2 separate regions of the Homo sapiens genome follow, and region 1 is linked to region 2. Evidence: promoter capture Hi-C in 16 types of primary human blood cells and fetal thymus (Javierre and others, 2016). All regions are on one chromosome and are shown on one strand. The core of a region is centred on a gene start or on the middle of the fragment in contact, and the rest is flanking DNA. Distances in the headings are between cores, read along the strand shown. Region 1 overlaps MCM9 (minichromosome maintenance 9 homologous recombination repair factor). Region 2 holds the start of PLN (phospholamban).

The links. Contacts are between HindIII fragments. The CHiCAGO score rates a contact against its expected background, and 5 or more counts as called.
Region 1: a contact is called between a fragment that was not itself captured here and the fragment with the promoter of PLN in region 2, in 2 of 17 cell types (total CD4 T cells and fetal thymus). The highest score is 5.6, in total CD4 T cells.

The regions. Positions count from the first base shown.
Region 1 is chr6:118,876,347-118,883,935 of GRCh38, forward strand. The region is part of intron 8 of MCM9 (minichromosome maintenance 9 homologous recombination repair factor); the gene reads right to left. Among named protein-coding and RNA genes, the nearest start is that of ASF1A, 14 kb to the right of the region's middle. The HindIII fragment of the contact is 5,587 bases long and covers 1-5,184 here.
Region 2 is chr6:118,542,777-118,550,465 of GRCh38, forward strand. PLN (phospholamban) reads left to right here and starts at 5,520. Exons shown (of 2, transcript NM_002667.5): 1 at 5,520-5,616. The region is part of intron 3 of CEP85L (centrosomal protein 85L); the gene reads right to left. The HindIII fragment of the contact is 6,726 bases long and covers 5,276-7,689 here.

The DNA of each region.
Region 1 (7,589 bases), core at 1,141-3,640, 330 kb after region 2:
TACAACACTGAGTGAATCCTAATGTAAATAATAGAATTTGGGTAGCAATGATGTGTCATTGTTGGTTTATCGGTTGTAATGAATGTACCACTCTGAAACTAGCTGACACTAGAGAAGGTTGTATGCATGGCAGGGAGGGAGAATATAGGAACTATAGTTTCTGTTCAGCTTTGTTGTAAACCTAAAACTACTCTAAAAAACAAATTTTATTAATTAATAAGCAAAAACTGTTGTGACCCTGAGTTGGGCAAAGATTTCTTACATATGACATCAAAGGCACAGTACTCAAAGAAAAATTATAAGTTGATCCTCGCTGAAGTTAAAAATGTTTGTTCTTCTACAATGTTAAGAAAATGTGAAAGATAAGCAACAGATTGGGAGAACGTATTTGCAAATCCTTTATCTGATAAAGGACTTGTACACAGAATATATAAAGAATTTGCAAAACTCAGTAAGAAGTAAACAAAACCTCACTGAAAAACTGAGCAAAAAAGTTTGAACAGTCCTTTCATAAAAGAAAATATACACATGGCAAATAAGCACATGAAAATATGTTCAATATATCCCCTCCCCTTGAATCAGGGCAGAGCTTTGTGACTGCCTTGACCCATACAGTATGGTGAAAACAATGCCATGTCATTTTCAAGGCTAGATTGTTAAAATGCTAGACATTTCTGACTTGTTTTCTTGGAATGCTAGATTTTAGAGCCCAGCCACTATGTTGTAAAGAAGCCTAAGCAACCTACAGAGAGGCCTGTGTGGACAGAAAGTGAGGACCAAGGACCCACAGCCCAGGGTGAGCACCCAACCTACAGTCAGCACCAATGTGCCAAGCATATGAGTAGCTATCTTGAAAGTGGATCCTCCAGCCCCCAGTTGAGCTGCCACAGCTGATGCACATGGAACAGAAAAAACCTGCCCAAATTGCAGATCTGTAAACAAAATAAGCTGCTAAGTTTTGAAGTGGTCTCTTACTCAGTACTACATAACCTAGCCAAGACCACTAAGAGAAAGACAGACAACCTAATGGAAAAATGGAGAATGGACTTAAAATAGGTATTTCATGAAAGAGAAAGTCAATAAACACATGAAAAGGTGCTCAACCTCATAAATAATAAGGAAAATTCAAATTAAAACTACAGTGTAATGCCATTACACACCCACAAGTATGGTTAAGTATTTAAAAATCTGACAGTGCAAGTACTGGCAAGGTTGTGAGGCAAAGTCAACTCTCATGTGCTACTAATGGGAATAATAACGGATACAACTATTTTGGAAAAGAGTTTGGCAATATCTACAAAAGTTTCAGTTATACATACTCATGTACTCAGAAACTTCACTGCTAAGTCTGTTCCATACAGAGATTGTGACCATCTGCACCAGGAGGGAGATAGGTAAAAGAGGGCTCATCATAAAATTCTTCATAATAGTTAAACCTGGAAACAACTGAAAAGGCTATCAACAGAACAGATGAATAAATTGTGGTATATTCAGACCGTGGAATAATGCATAACAATTAAAAAACAAAGTACTAGGCCTGGTGTGGTGGCTCTCACCTGTAATCTCAACACTTTAGGAGGCTGAGATGAGGGATCACTTGAGGCCAGGAGTTCAAGACAAGCCTGGGCAACAGAGTGAGAGTTCATCTCTACAAAAATTTAAAAAATTAGCAAGGCATGGTGGTGCATGACTGTAATCCTAGCCATTTGGGAGACTAAGACAAGAAGACTGCTTGAGCCCAGGAGTTCCAGGCTGCAGTGAGCTATGATAACACTACTGCACTCCAGCCTGGGTGACAGAGCGAGACCCTGCCTCAAAACAGAAAAACAAAAACAAGATAAAGTATTGTACAGCTAAACACAATATGGAGAGAATATTAAAAGATAATACTGATCAAAAAATACATAGTCTACAATTTAATTAATGTAAAGTTAAAAAAAAGCAAAAACAAATTAATGCTAATAGACCTATAAGAAATACTACAGGAGTCTTTCAGGCTGAAATGAAAAAACACTAAGATGGTAATTCAACCCTACATGAAGAAATAAAATGCACCAATAAAGATAACTATATAGGTAAAAAATGAAAGACAGCATAACTGTAACTTTGTAACTTTTTTTCTTTTATCTGATTTAAAAGAAAATTGTATAAGCACAAATTATAAAATGTGTTGAGTGGCTTATAACATATGAAGATATAATTTGTATGACAATAATAGCACAAAGAAAAGGGAATAGAATTACATTGTAACAAATTTTTACACACTATGAAAATTGAATTGGCATTAATCTGAACTAAACTGCTTTAAATTAAAAAGTTGGTAATAACCCCCAAGGCAACTATTAATATCTTTAAATATATAAGAAACAAGAAGGGTATTAAAATAATACATTAGAAAATATATATTTAATATATTTAATGCCAAAGAGGCTGGGCACAGTGGCTTACACCTGTAATCCCAGCACTTTGGGAGGCTGAGGTGGGTGGATTGCTTGAGCTCAGACGTTCAAGACCAGCCTGGGCAACATGACAAAACCCCGTCTCTACTAAAAATACAAAAATTAGCTGGGCAGGTGGCACACACCTGTAGTCCTGGCTACTTGGGTGGTTGAGTTAGGAGAATCATTTAAGCCCAAGAGGTGGAGGCTGCAGTGAGCCAAGATCATACCACTGCATTCCAGCCTGGGCAACAGAGGAAGACCCTGTCTCAAAAACAAAACAAAACAGACAAAAAATACAAAAGAAGGCAGAAATGGAGGAATGTAAGAACAAAGAAGACATAAGACATGTAGAAAACAAAGAGGAGCATAGTATACATGAATCCTGCCTTGTGAGTAATTACATTAAATGGAAACAGATGAACTACTTCATGAAAAGGCAAAGGTTGTTAGAATGGAGGGGGAAAAAAAAAAAAAACCCATGATCCAACTATGTGCTGTCTACAAGAGACACACTTTAGACTTAAAGGCACAAATAGGTTAAAAGTGAAAGGATGGAGAAAGATATTTTGTTCAAACAATAACCAAAACAGAATTGAGGAAGCTATACTAATATCAGTCAAAATATCTGAATATGATCTTAAAAATGCATTAACACAAGAATAGCATTCACAAGTGTAGATATCTGTTAGACAACTTCTAGAGGATCTATGCACAAAATGTGGCCTAGCTACCTGTTTTTGGAAATATAATTTTATTGGAATACAGTCATGCTAATTTGTTTACATACTGTCTATGGCTGCTTTCATATTATAATGGCAGAGGTAAGTAGTTGTGATAGACATTATACTGCCATCAGAATAAAAAATACTAGTATGTGGCCTTTTACAGAAAAAGGATGCCAATTCTTGATCTAGTGTTTTAATGTCCATGTTGGGACATCAAATTAAAAAAAAAAAAAACTAATAGAAAGACTAGGCGGGGTGCAGTGGCTAATGCCTGTAATCCCAGCACTTTGGGAGGCTGAGGTAGGTGGATCACTTGAGGTCAGGAGTTTGAGACCAGCCTGGCCAACATGGTGAAACCCTGTCTCTATTAATAATACAAAAATTAACCAGGCGTGGTGGTGGGTCCCTGTAATCCCAGCCACTTGGGAGGCAAGGCAAGGAGAATCACTTGAACCTGGGAGGTGGAGCCGAGCTCATGCACTGCACTCCAGCCTGGGCGACAGAGTGAGAGTGCACAAAACAAACAAACAAACAACAACAAAAAAAAAACACCAAAGAAAAGAAAAAGAAAGAATAAAAAGGGCAATGAAATAATGAAGGACATGCAAATAATACCATTTAAAGAATGGTTTGTAACATTGGGTCTGTTTAGCCTAATTAAAAAAAAAAATACAGGGAATCGAAATTTTTATATCCTCTGAAAACTCTCCTATGGAAGAGGAATTAGATAAATTTGTAGCAGCTTCAAAAGAAATTAACTGAGACTAACATGTAGAAGTTTACAAGGAACTGTTGGAAACTCGAGGTGTTTGAAGAGGAATGAGCTGCCTTACAAAATAGTGAACTTTTCATCAAAGTAAGTCAAAGTAGAATGTCCACTTGTCAGGATAGTATAAAAAGGTATTTATGCAATGAGTAGGTAACTGCCTAAAGGACTAAAGGTTCTAAAAATCCCTTCTAAATCTGTCTCTTAGCAATACAGAAAGGACTTTCAGCCATTTCCTGAAATCTGTGGCAAAGGTAATTAAAAACTAAGACAGCTAAGTATTTCTTCCCACTTTTGTTAATTCCTTGAATGCAAAAGACAGAAGGAAAACAAAGTTGTCTCTTTGTCTCTGTCTTATGAGAGGCAAGAAGAGGGAAATAAATAGTACTTCTAATGATTAAAAGGTGATTATATTTAAGATGTCTTTCCTTTCAAACTTTGGGTTTTTAGTACTGGAATAGGGAAGTTAGTAGAAGGCAGCCAGGGGACAAAGGGATGAGTACCAATTCATTCTCTCTTCTTGTAGAGGATTCCTGTGTTCAACAATTCAGCAAACATTTATTGTTAATATCAAAGCATAGTAGTCTCTCCTTATCCACAGGGGATACGTTCCAAGACCCCCAGTGCATGCCTGAAAGTGTGGCTAGTACTGAACCCTATACACACTATGTTTTTCCTACACATACAAACCTAAGATAAGGTAATTTATAAATTAGGCACAGAGATTAACAAAAAATAATAATAGAACAATTATAACAATATACTGCAATAAAAGTTATGTGAACGTGGTCTTTCTCAAAATATCTTACTGTAATGAACTCATCTATTTTCAGACAGTGATTGACTATGGGAAATTGAAATCATGCAAAGCAAAACCCCGGATGAACTACTGCATGCACTAAAGTAAGCATAATGCACTGAAGTACTATGTCAGCCAAGGATTACGTATAATTTTATAATAATGTTTAATTTATACACCCTAACTTTCCTGAGCCCCACCTTTTTCAATCCTGACTCCCTCCGCATCTAGATAAGAACGTTTCCTTCCTCCTTGAAACTTTCCATTTCCCAACTAGTACCTCCAGTCAATACATATTTATACACACCCTTCCAAAAAACAGCACTCATCTTCCTGTTGACTTGTAGTTTGTTTGTATCCTATGGTAAAATTCAGTGAGCGAGTCAATGTGCGGAATTTATTGTATAAGTATTACATTTTCTCTATGAGGACATGGAACTAGTGACCAAATAAAGCTTCATTAAAAACACCAAGGGAGGAAAAATGGCACCAGAAATTACTAGCAAACCAGGAATAATGACTGCACTTAGAAAAACTGAACAGTGAAAACAGCGTTAAAAACATCACTTCAGAGGTTTCACTTCTGCAATGGCAGTGTGAGGAGCTCCATGGACATCCTCCTCACTGAAGCAAGTATAACTGGTGAAAATTATTTTTTAAAATCCAACCATTTATACAGACTATGGAAAATCTAAGGGCATACAGTAAATGAAGAAACATTTATTCATTGAAATCTAAAACTTCATAAGAATAGTGAGAGTCTAAGACACTTAAATCATGACCTGCTTCCTGCCTCTCCCCTTCTCTTCTTGCTTAGCTGGATGGAGGCTTCACTACAGGTGAATGTGGTCAAGAAGAGGAGCTCCCTATGAGCTCTTAATCAAGGGATAAGATATCGTACCAGGAGGGGTAGAAAGCATTTCTTATCCCCTCCACGTGTGAGGTACAGAAGCTAAATTCCTGGTGACTGTGGCCAAAAGGTCACGATCTTCCTTCCTCCACCCAATCCCAACGCACAGAGTAGAGGATCTACCCTAGGTGTGACAGGCAAAGAATCCTCGGCACCCCAAATGCCTTCAATCCAGCTGACTCATAAGGTAAAGGTTCCACCTGGAAAGACAAAGCCAATAAGGGCAGAGGCTACCATTTCCGCCCCCTGGCTGGAGCAGTAGCTCAGAGAGTTTGACCAGGGGGAGAGAGAGTCCACAAAAACAGGGAAAGGAAAATCTGAATCTTCCCCCACAAGAAACTGACTTTATTTGGAACACAGTGCAGGGAAATTCAAGCCTAATGGAGATTTTGGTAGCAAGTAATAAAAAGGCTGGTAGCTCTATTACAGCTGTATGCTAAACCATAGGCCAGCTAGTTTACCATAGAGAACCAGGGAAACAGCCAACAAGAGCACTTCTGGGGTCAGAACAAACCTCAAGTACTGGATTCAAAAAGTATCCCTGACCAAATTTAATTGAACCAGAGTGCTGAGCAACTTATCCCCAGGGCATTGCCAAAAAGAACAGAGCAATCAACAACTAGAGCCTACCAGCCGAGTATGATACCAAACAGCACAGATAGCTTAACAGAGATCAAGGAGAGAGTCAAGGAAAGGTTGGTTAAAATTATCATCCTAAGAGTGACTGTACACACACGTAAAGGCTGTTGCCTCTGAGGAGTAACATCAGCGACTTCACACTGTGAGGAGACACAGACTTCAAGAAATGAACCTAGCCAAGTTACTAAACAAGCAAACAACAATAAAAAAAAGGATAAAAAACGAGGCCTGGAGGAGAATTAATATAAAGAACTGGTATAATACATTAAATTAAAATATCCGGTTTTTAACAAAGAAGTATAAGATGTGCAAAAAAACAGGAAAATGTGGCCCACACACAGGGAGAAAAAGCAGACAACAGAAGCTGCCTGTGAGAGGATCCAGATTTCAAATGTAGTGGGCAAAGCCTTCAAAGTAGCCATTTTACATGTGCTCAAAGATGCAAAAAAAAAAAAAAAAAAAGGGATGATGACAATGTCTCAACAAATAGAGAATATCAATAAGAGATAAAAAGGATTTTTAAAAACCAAGTAAGAATTCTGGATTTGAAATGTACAATAACTGAAACAAAAAATTCACTAGATAGCTCAAGAGTAAACCTGAAATTGCAGAAGAAAAAGTCAGCAAACTTTAAGAGAGATCAGTTGAAATTATGCAATCCAAAGAACAGAGGTAAAGGGCAAGATAAAAAATGAGCAGAGTGTCAAAGAAATGTTGTACACCTTTAATCAGAATAATATATATATATTGGGAGTACCAGAAGGAGGGGAACTAAAAGGAGTAGAAAAAAAGTTAGAAAAAAATGACTGAAAACTCTCCAAATTTGATGAAAAACAATGGACTATACATTCAAGAAGCTCAACAAAATCCAAGTAGGATATATGTTTTAAAAAATCCACACCCATAAATCATAGCAGAAATGCTGAAAACTGAAGATAAAGAGAAAATTTTAAATCAATAAGAGAACAACTCTTCATTTAAAAGGGAGCCACAATAAAATTAAGAGCTGACTTCTAATCAGAAACAGTGGAGGCCAGAGGCAGTGGGATTACATATTCAAAGTGCTGAAAGAAAAAAAAAAATCGAACCCGGAGTCTGATATCCAGCAAAACTATCTTTCAAAAATTATGGAAAAATAAAGACATTCCCAGATAAACAAAAACTGGGAGCATCAGTAGCTAGCAGACATGCCTTAAAAGAATTACTAAAGGAGGTTCTTTAAGCCAAAAGCAAATCTCTCTGGGTGATAACTCAAATTGAAAAAAGAATGAGCACTGGCAAAGGTAATTATGTAACTAGAAAAAACAGT
Region 2 (7,689 bases), core at 4,270-6,769:
CCACAATGCAGTCACTCTGGTTTGTTTTGGGCTGAGTCTTAACAGACCAGACCAAACAAGAATGGAGCCACTCCTGCTAGGAGCCACATAACCAAACTGAACTTCAACATCACCAAGTTTTCCCAAAAAAAAAAAAAAAAAAAAAAACAGGATATTCACAGCAACCAATCAGAAAGGGCCCAGTTTACCTGAATTAGCATGATAAAGAAGTCTGTTTTAACCTTATAAGGAAAGTAACTTACAATAACCAATTCACTTTTTGTTCCTTCTTTCTTTAGCCTCTTTCTGCCTAGAAAGCCCACCTCCTCCACTTAGCTCATCTGATGGCCTATTTTTATAGAGACACTGCCCAATTCATGAATCATTAATCAAAGCCAATTAATTAAACTCAATTTGTTGAAATTGTTTTTTGATGTTACACACACGTCAAAGTGTGAACAAGTTAAAGAATTAAGTGCAAGAAAAATCTCAACTTTTCAGAGGCAATCATTAGGGACAAAGAAAATTAGTTTATCTAAGTTTCTGAGGGCCTTTATTCTCTCTTCTTTCAACTTATCCTTTTTAAGAGTTCACTTGTAATAGAAAAATAATATTCTAAATATCCATTAAGTATAAAAATATCTTATTGAGCCTTCTAAGGGATAAACAGTGTGTAGAGCTTAAAAAAATCAATCAGTCTCTATTCATGAAGTTTATGGCAAGGAAAATAAATAGACCTATATAATATAAAAAGTCCCCCACCAACTTCAGATTTATCTGACTTTTCTGAATTATAAGAGATATTCACTTATTACTTGTATAATTAGAAATTAAGAACAAGCAAAACAGGGCTTCTCCCCACCTACTTCTGAATAATGAAGGAGTTCTATAAGAACAAGACAGTAAGGAAAATAATTCGGATAGAAGAAATAACATATAATGGCAGAGTTGTCAAATCGTTATGGTAGGCATACATGGCAATGGACAGATCAGGAACGATGTTTTATGTAATTCTGTAAAGAGTGGGTTTTTCATCTCGAAAGAGAAATCAATAAAAAGTTCTCAGCATGTGAATGACAATCAAATGTGCACTTGGATATCAGAGTAAAAACTGAGTAGGAAAGAGTCACAACGAAGGGTAGAAAAACTAGTTAATAAACGTCTATGAAAGTTAAGAGGAGAGTTGGTCAGGCTATGAGAACAAAGACATATTTCACAATCTGCATTTGGTTTCTAAGTGAATGGGGAGTCTGGCAGAAGACAGAAAAGGTATGAGCCTCCAATTTCAATTTTGTATCAAAATCAGTGATAGTGCCACCACAAAGTTTGCGAATGCGAGGAGCTCAAAGGGCTGAGATATCAACCACAAAGATAAGAAATTTAATATGTCTGGAGAAATACTACAATCATTAAATTGAAATAGAACCTTCTTAACAATGTAACAGCATCATGATCGGGACCCTATAGAATTTTGAAGCAAGTATTTGGAGACCTAAGGGTTGGTTTTTGTTGTTAAATTTGTTTTGTGATGTATGTGTTTCCCTTTGTTATTTTTGGCTTTGGTTCTGTCCGTTTCCTTTGTACAAAACATGCACTTCTCTTAGAAGTCATACTGCTTATTATTACACGTGCTCATTTGACTCTCAATTGGGAATTTCTTTTTCTCCTGGTGTTATCTTGCACTAGTGGTTACCTTCTAAATGTTAAATTTTCATTTCCATATTATTTGTATACTGATAAACCATAATTTCCTTGAAGCCACGTAGCATGCTATAGCATTTCTATCACTTAGAATGTTTAATAACTTTCCAAAATTTATGTAGACCTATATGAGTCCTTTTCTTAATCCATCTGGCCTCTCTTAATGTCAATGCTCTTCTCCACCCCTCATCAAGATGAGGAAAGAGAATTTGCCCAGAATTCAGATATTTATGAAAAAATAAAATGTTTGGGTCTCCAGGTTATCTGGCAAATCAAGTGAAAAGTGAACCTACCTCCCCCAAATGACCCCTAAGCTTTATAGGTTACTTTATCACTGGGTTATATCAACAGCCCCCCAACTCCAGTTGATGAGTAAATCTTATTTTCTTTTCCCTATTGCCCTATGGAGAGAATTTCCATCCTCTCAATCTCAGACCACTAATTCTTATTCGCAGTTTTGCTTAGATGTTTTTTGAACCAGTCCTTCCCTACGTAGCTTTAAAATTTAAGGCAGTAATTATCAAACCCTCAAGTACCCTCAAGAGATAGGTAAAATCTTCTTCCTGGGTGTCTAGGAGATCTAATCTAAAAAAAGCTCCTTATCTTTGATGTATTGTGAACATTACAAAAATTGATTCAAAGCTTGCATTTTACTGTATCTCTGTCTAAATATTAAAATGCTTTAATTTAGTCATCACTTATATTAACTTCTGGTCAAAAATTTCCAAAAACCGATTCTATTTTGAAGCTTCTTCGCCCTCCGGATACACCACTACAGACTGGAGTTTAAATGCTCAATGTAAAAGATTACTACATACATCACAGTGCCCTTCACAAAACGTTAGTAATATAGCTGGGCGCGGTGGCTCACGCCTGTAATCCCAGCACTTTGGGAGGCCGAGGTGGGCAGATCACGAGGTCAGGAGTTTGAGACCAGCCTGGGCAATATGGTGAAACCCCATCTCTACTAAAAATACAAAAGTTAGCTGGGCGTGGTGGCACACGCCTGTAGTCTCAGCTACTTGGGAGGCTGAGGCAGGAGAATCGCTTGAACCCGAGAGGGAGAGGTTGCAGTGAGCTGAGATCGCACCATTCACTCGGGGCTGAGTAACAGAGTGAGACTCCGCACCCCCTTCCAAAAAAAATTAGTAATACTTTTGAGGAACACATTTAAAATGCTACAAAACTATATAAAAACAAAAGTAAAGACATGAACTCATGATTCAGTTGAAACTGAATACTAAATTTCATTTAGAGCTTAGTAAAAATAAATTTGTAATTATTTTCCCATCCAAGTTCAAAGACACTTTACCCTTAAGAATCCACCTTCTAAAGGAAAAAAGAAAATAAGTGCTAACACTAAATGAACACTGTTGCAGGATCTCTGATAATCACTATGTACACTTCATGTCATTAAACCATCACAAATACTATTCCACAGATTAGGCTGCTTAGGAAAGTTATTTGTATAAAGCCATGTGACCAAAAATACATTCAAACTATAGTGTAACTCCAAATGAAGACTGTGACAAAGCACCTCAAAAAAATTTTCTAGCCTCTAGCTGAGGAATCATTGAGGAACACTCTACTGATAACACTATAACTCATTAATACTCCTATTAAACAACTTTCTGTTTGGGCAATTAAAAACAATGTTCAGTTAAAACTAAAATCTAATACTTCCTAGAGTTCCACATGAGATCATCACCATCATCGTCATCTTCACTAGCTAACCCAAAGGAACAAGGTAAACACAAAAACTCCCCACTCTTGTACCAATCTAAAAAGTAAATTTTTGAATCCATTTTCCAACTGTGTCACACACAGTTGTTAGTATCCTTCTAAGGTGTGTATATGCCTATGTATACTTTTTAAGTAAACTTATAAACATGTGGTAACTAGGGCATATTTTATTCTGTCTACGGCAGCTTCTTGGTTTATCCAACTAAGTATTACTAATTCTATTTTCTTAGAATGAGAAGTTCTCAGAACAATGATCTATCACCTAAATTTCAAATGAATGTGTAACTGGTAGACAAACTTAAAGCAGACTTTCTAAAACTATTAACAGTGCTCAAGAATGCATCTATTTACATCTTAAAAATTTCTCAGTTACTATATGCTACTCTAATGAAAGCTATATTCAAATTATAATTTTTTCCCACAGCATGCCAACAGATTAGGAATTATAAACAGACAGATCTGGATTTGAATCCTGTCTATTCTTTAGCAGCTGGTTATCTCTGACAAATTACTGTAAACCTCGTTAGGCTTCTCGGTTTTGTATTATCAATCATCATTGGTAACTGATAGTACTGAGAGATCCTCATTATGTAAGGATTGAAAGAAAAATGGTTGTAGCACTGAGAAAAGTATCAAACATTATTCTGCAATTTCCTTAACTTGGGTTTTACTTTTAAGTTGTAAATTTTCCCTTGGCAATGTTCACAGGATATCTTTGCTAAAATATTATTTTTCAGTTAGTTTTAAGCTGACTCTTTAAATATCAAATGATTTGCTCTAGAGATGGATTTTCTTTCTTTGGAAGAAGCCAAGATCATTTCCATTTAAGGGCATGTAAGCAGCTGCTGCTACACATTTTAGTTACCCATAAGAAAGTGAAGTGGGCTAAGTTCACTCTGTCATAAGCATTTAAAAAATTAAAAATTACAAGTACCTCCTCTAAAATTAAAGAAGAGATTTAAGAATTAATATTTTCGAGTGTGGTGACTTAAGTAAATCTAACATCTAAGACAACAAATTAGATAAACAGAGAAGAGGAGAATGATGCCCGGCTTTACAAAAAAATTATTTCCCCAGTTCTACTGTAAGATAAACTGTTCTAGGAAGTTCAAAATATCATCTCACTTACTAGCATCTCATTTTTATAGTAATTTTCAGGAAAGCAACTGCTAGATTAAATGAGGCACATCCTTTCAAAAACATTACAAAACTTAAATTTCAACACATCAAACCTATAAAGCCTCATTAACTGAGATGTAACTGATTTGGAATCTGTAATTATTTCTTTTTTGCCATAAAGTTGCCCTTAATACTGCATCAGTTTATTAAAAATTTGGTAAGATTGTGTAATAATTTAATGCAATTGTTTTTAAAAAATCTTAAATACTTAAAGTAGCATATTGCTATTTTGGGGGTGTTGTATGTATCAGTTTAAATATAAGTATTACTATTCACAAATATATTGTTAAACTGCTAATTGAAGAAAACACAAATGAATTAAATACATTTATTAGTTCTTTAACTGTAAGATAAAAATAATTTTTTAAAACAAAAAGCAATTAGCCTGATTTTCTCATACTCCTTCTCCCATACACACAAGAACAAGAACAAAATAAGAAAACAGGTATAAAATTTTATTGTGTAAAAATATTTCACTTTCACTAAAAGCTAACATTATGAAGACACGTATTAAAGCAACAGCAGCAAGAATTCAATGAAAGTTGTTTTGCTTATACCTGTGTTTATTTTTCTCATAATTAAAATTCCTGCAGTAACTATTTTAGCTCTTCAACATCTTCACCATTAATATTCAATTATCTCTAAGCCTGAAGATGCATGAATCTTTAACAAAAGCTTTCCACCACCTCAAGTTTACTTATTTTTTTCATTTATCTACCATATACTGTTTTAAATTAAAAACAAAAGATGAAGCACAAAGTGTTAATGACTTTTCCATACCTAAAGTAAGAAGTTCTAAAGTTTGGTTGTGATAAGACTGAGACTGTGGCTAACCAATCGAAACTTCAGAATTCCTATGTGACATCATAAGACCTCCCTAGAACACTTTTTCTCCTCCACCTACTGCAACTGTTCCCATAAACTGGGTGACAGAGTCAGAAAACTCCCCAGCTAAACACCCGTAAGACTTCATACAACACAATACTCTATACTGTGATGATCACAGCTGCCAAGGTAAGAAACAGATTTCGCTGACTTTGGTAATTCTTACTTTCTATAATTCTTAATTCCTATAATTTCTATAATCTGAACTTTTAAAATGAGTTAATTTTATGAATATCAGTTCAATCTTAGGCAATAAAATGACATGACAAAGTGCTTAAATTTATAAATGCTTATCCATTTAGTGACAGGAAAAATGAGACAACTTTGAAATGAAAAAGGTCATATTCATCTTTGATCCTGGTTACTGGTTTGTCATTTAAATTTATCTTTCACTTTTATTTTGCTTTTCAAATGTGAATTTCTGCCAATTAAAAAATCTTCCAATTATGTTACCATATTTGGTAGTAGTGGTTAATTTCTCCATGCAAAAACAATGACTTAATTTTGTTATTTATTGCTCTGCTGAGAAACAGTGCAGAACTGAGCTATTTACATCTGAACTAATATGAATAGTCATTTGACTACAACATGCACATTATCAGCATGCCTATTCCAATATTATCATAATTTCATACAGTGAATAATGAAATGGAGTTTCAGAATATATAATACAAGCTACTTTTAAAGTGCCCTTGAGGATGTTTCCCCTCTAAAGTCCAGTCAACTTTTAACAAACATTTCTAAAAAAATTCCATGCTATTAATAAATTGAGTTACTGATATTAAATTCAATATTGTATCATAAAGAAGTTTAGAAATTTTAAAACAATGTTCACAAACACAAAAAATCTGACGTTAGAGAATAATTTGATACTTTAAAAAGTTATTTTGACACACGAATATTCTTAACTATCTTATTTTCACACAAATTTGATTAAATGGATTTCTGCCTATTAATGCCTATAGTTTTGTCAAGTTATTATCCTCCAGTGGTACTCCATTTCCTCTCTCGGATTTAGAAAGAAAGGAAAAAATAAAATAAATGCCAGGAATGGAGATGCCACAATCAATTTTATGACTTCTGTTTGAATTCTACCCTATTCTTTATGTTACAATCCTCAATTTAGTAAATGAAACGTTTCCTCATTCTTAGATCTCTGTCAGGGCATACAGAAAATTACATATATTTTATTTATTTTGATTTTCATATTTCATATATATGTTAAAATAAAATTTATCTCTAAAATTCTCAATTCCTATGACAAATGTTAATTCTATTGCTCACTACAAATAAGAACTTTGTAACTCTGTAAGCAGCTTTCCTTAAGACATAAAAAAACATAATTTTTGTCTACCACTGAGGTATCCTAATTGTGTCTCCATATCTCTATACTCATATTTTTCCTTTGATAGTACATAAAAGTCATTCAGTGTAGGTGTCTTATGTTATTTGTGCATTTTTATTCAAATATCTATCAAATTACATTCTCACACTTCAAATTGGGTGTTCACGAGTTATTTTATTGTATCAGAATTTTGCTATATCACATATTACTCTAAAAAGTACACATACTTCTGGATAGAGCAGAAATTATATTAAACTTACCCTTAGCTCACTAGTATGTCTCAGTTAACAGAAATTACAGTTACAGAGACTGCTAAAATTTCAAATATAATGTGGTAGTACCATACATTGTGTCCCAACTAGTTCATCTATACCTTAAGGTGCAAGTTAAGTATTATCTTTGTTTATGAAGACATGTGGTTTCAAAGTAAGTGCTAAAAAAAGTGTTAGATGAAATCAAATGGAAAAAATATGAAAGATGTTTAAATTAAGAAGCATTAAGTTTTAAAAACGCATGAAAGAGCCAGAGTACTTGCTTTACTAAAAGGCGTGACAGCACTATCATTTCCTAAAACTCAAATATCAAATCCATTTTATTTGTATTTTAGTAGGCATAAAGGAAAATGATCACATTTGGGTATATAATCATATCTTTAATTAGTGAGATTAAGAAATAATAAAATATTGCATAAATACAATAGTTTCAGAAAATTTTAATGTATTTTAATGTTTTAATGTACTCATTACACATGTACACTAAATTATGTAATATATTAAATTTTTAATTAAAAAACCTAAAGTCTAGTTACCTCTCCAAATTAGACAATATATTACCAATCCCAGAAATGAGGAGGGCCA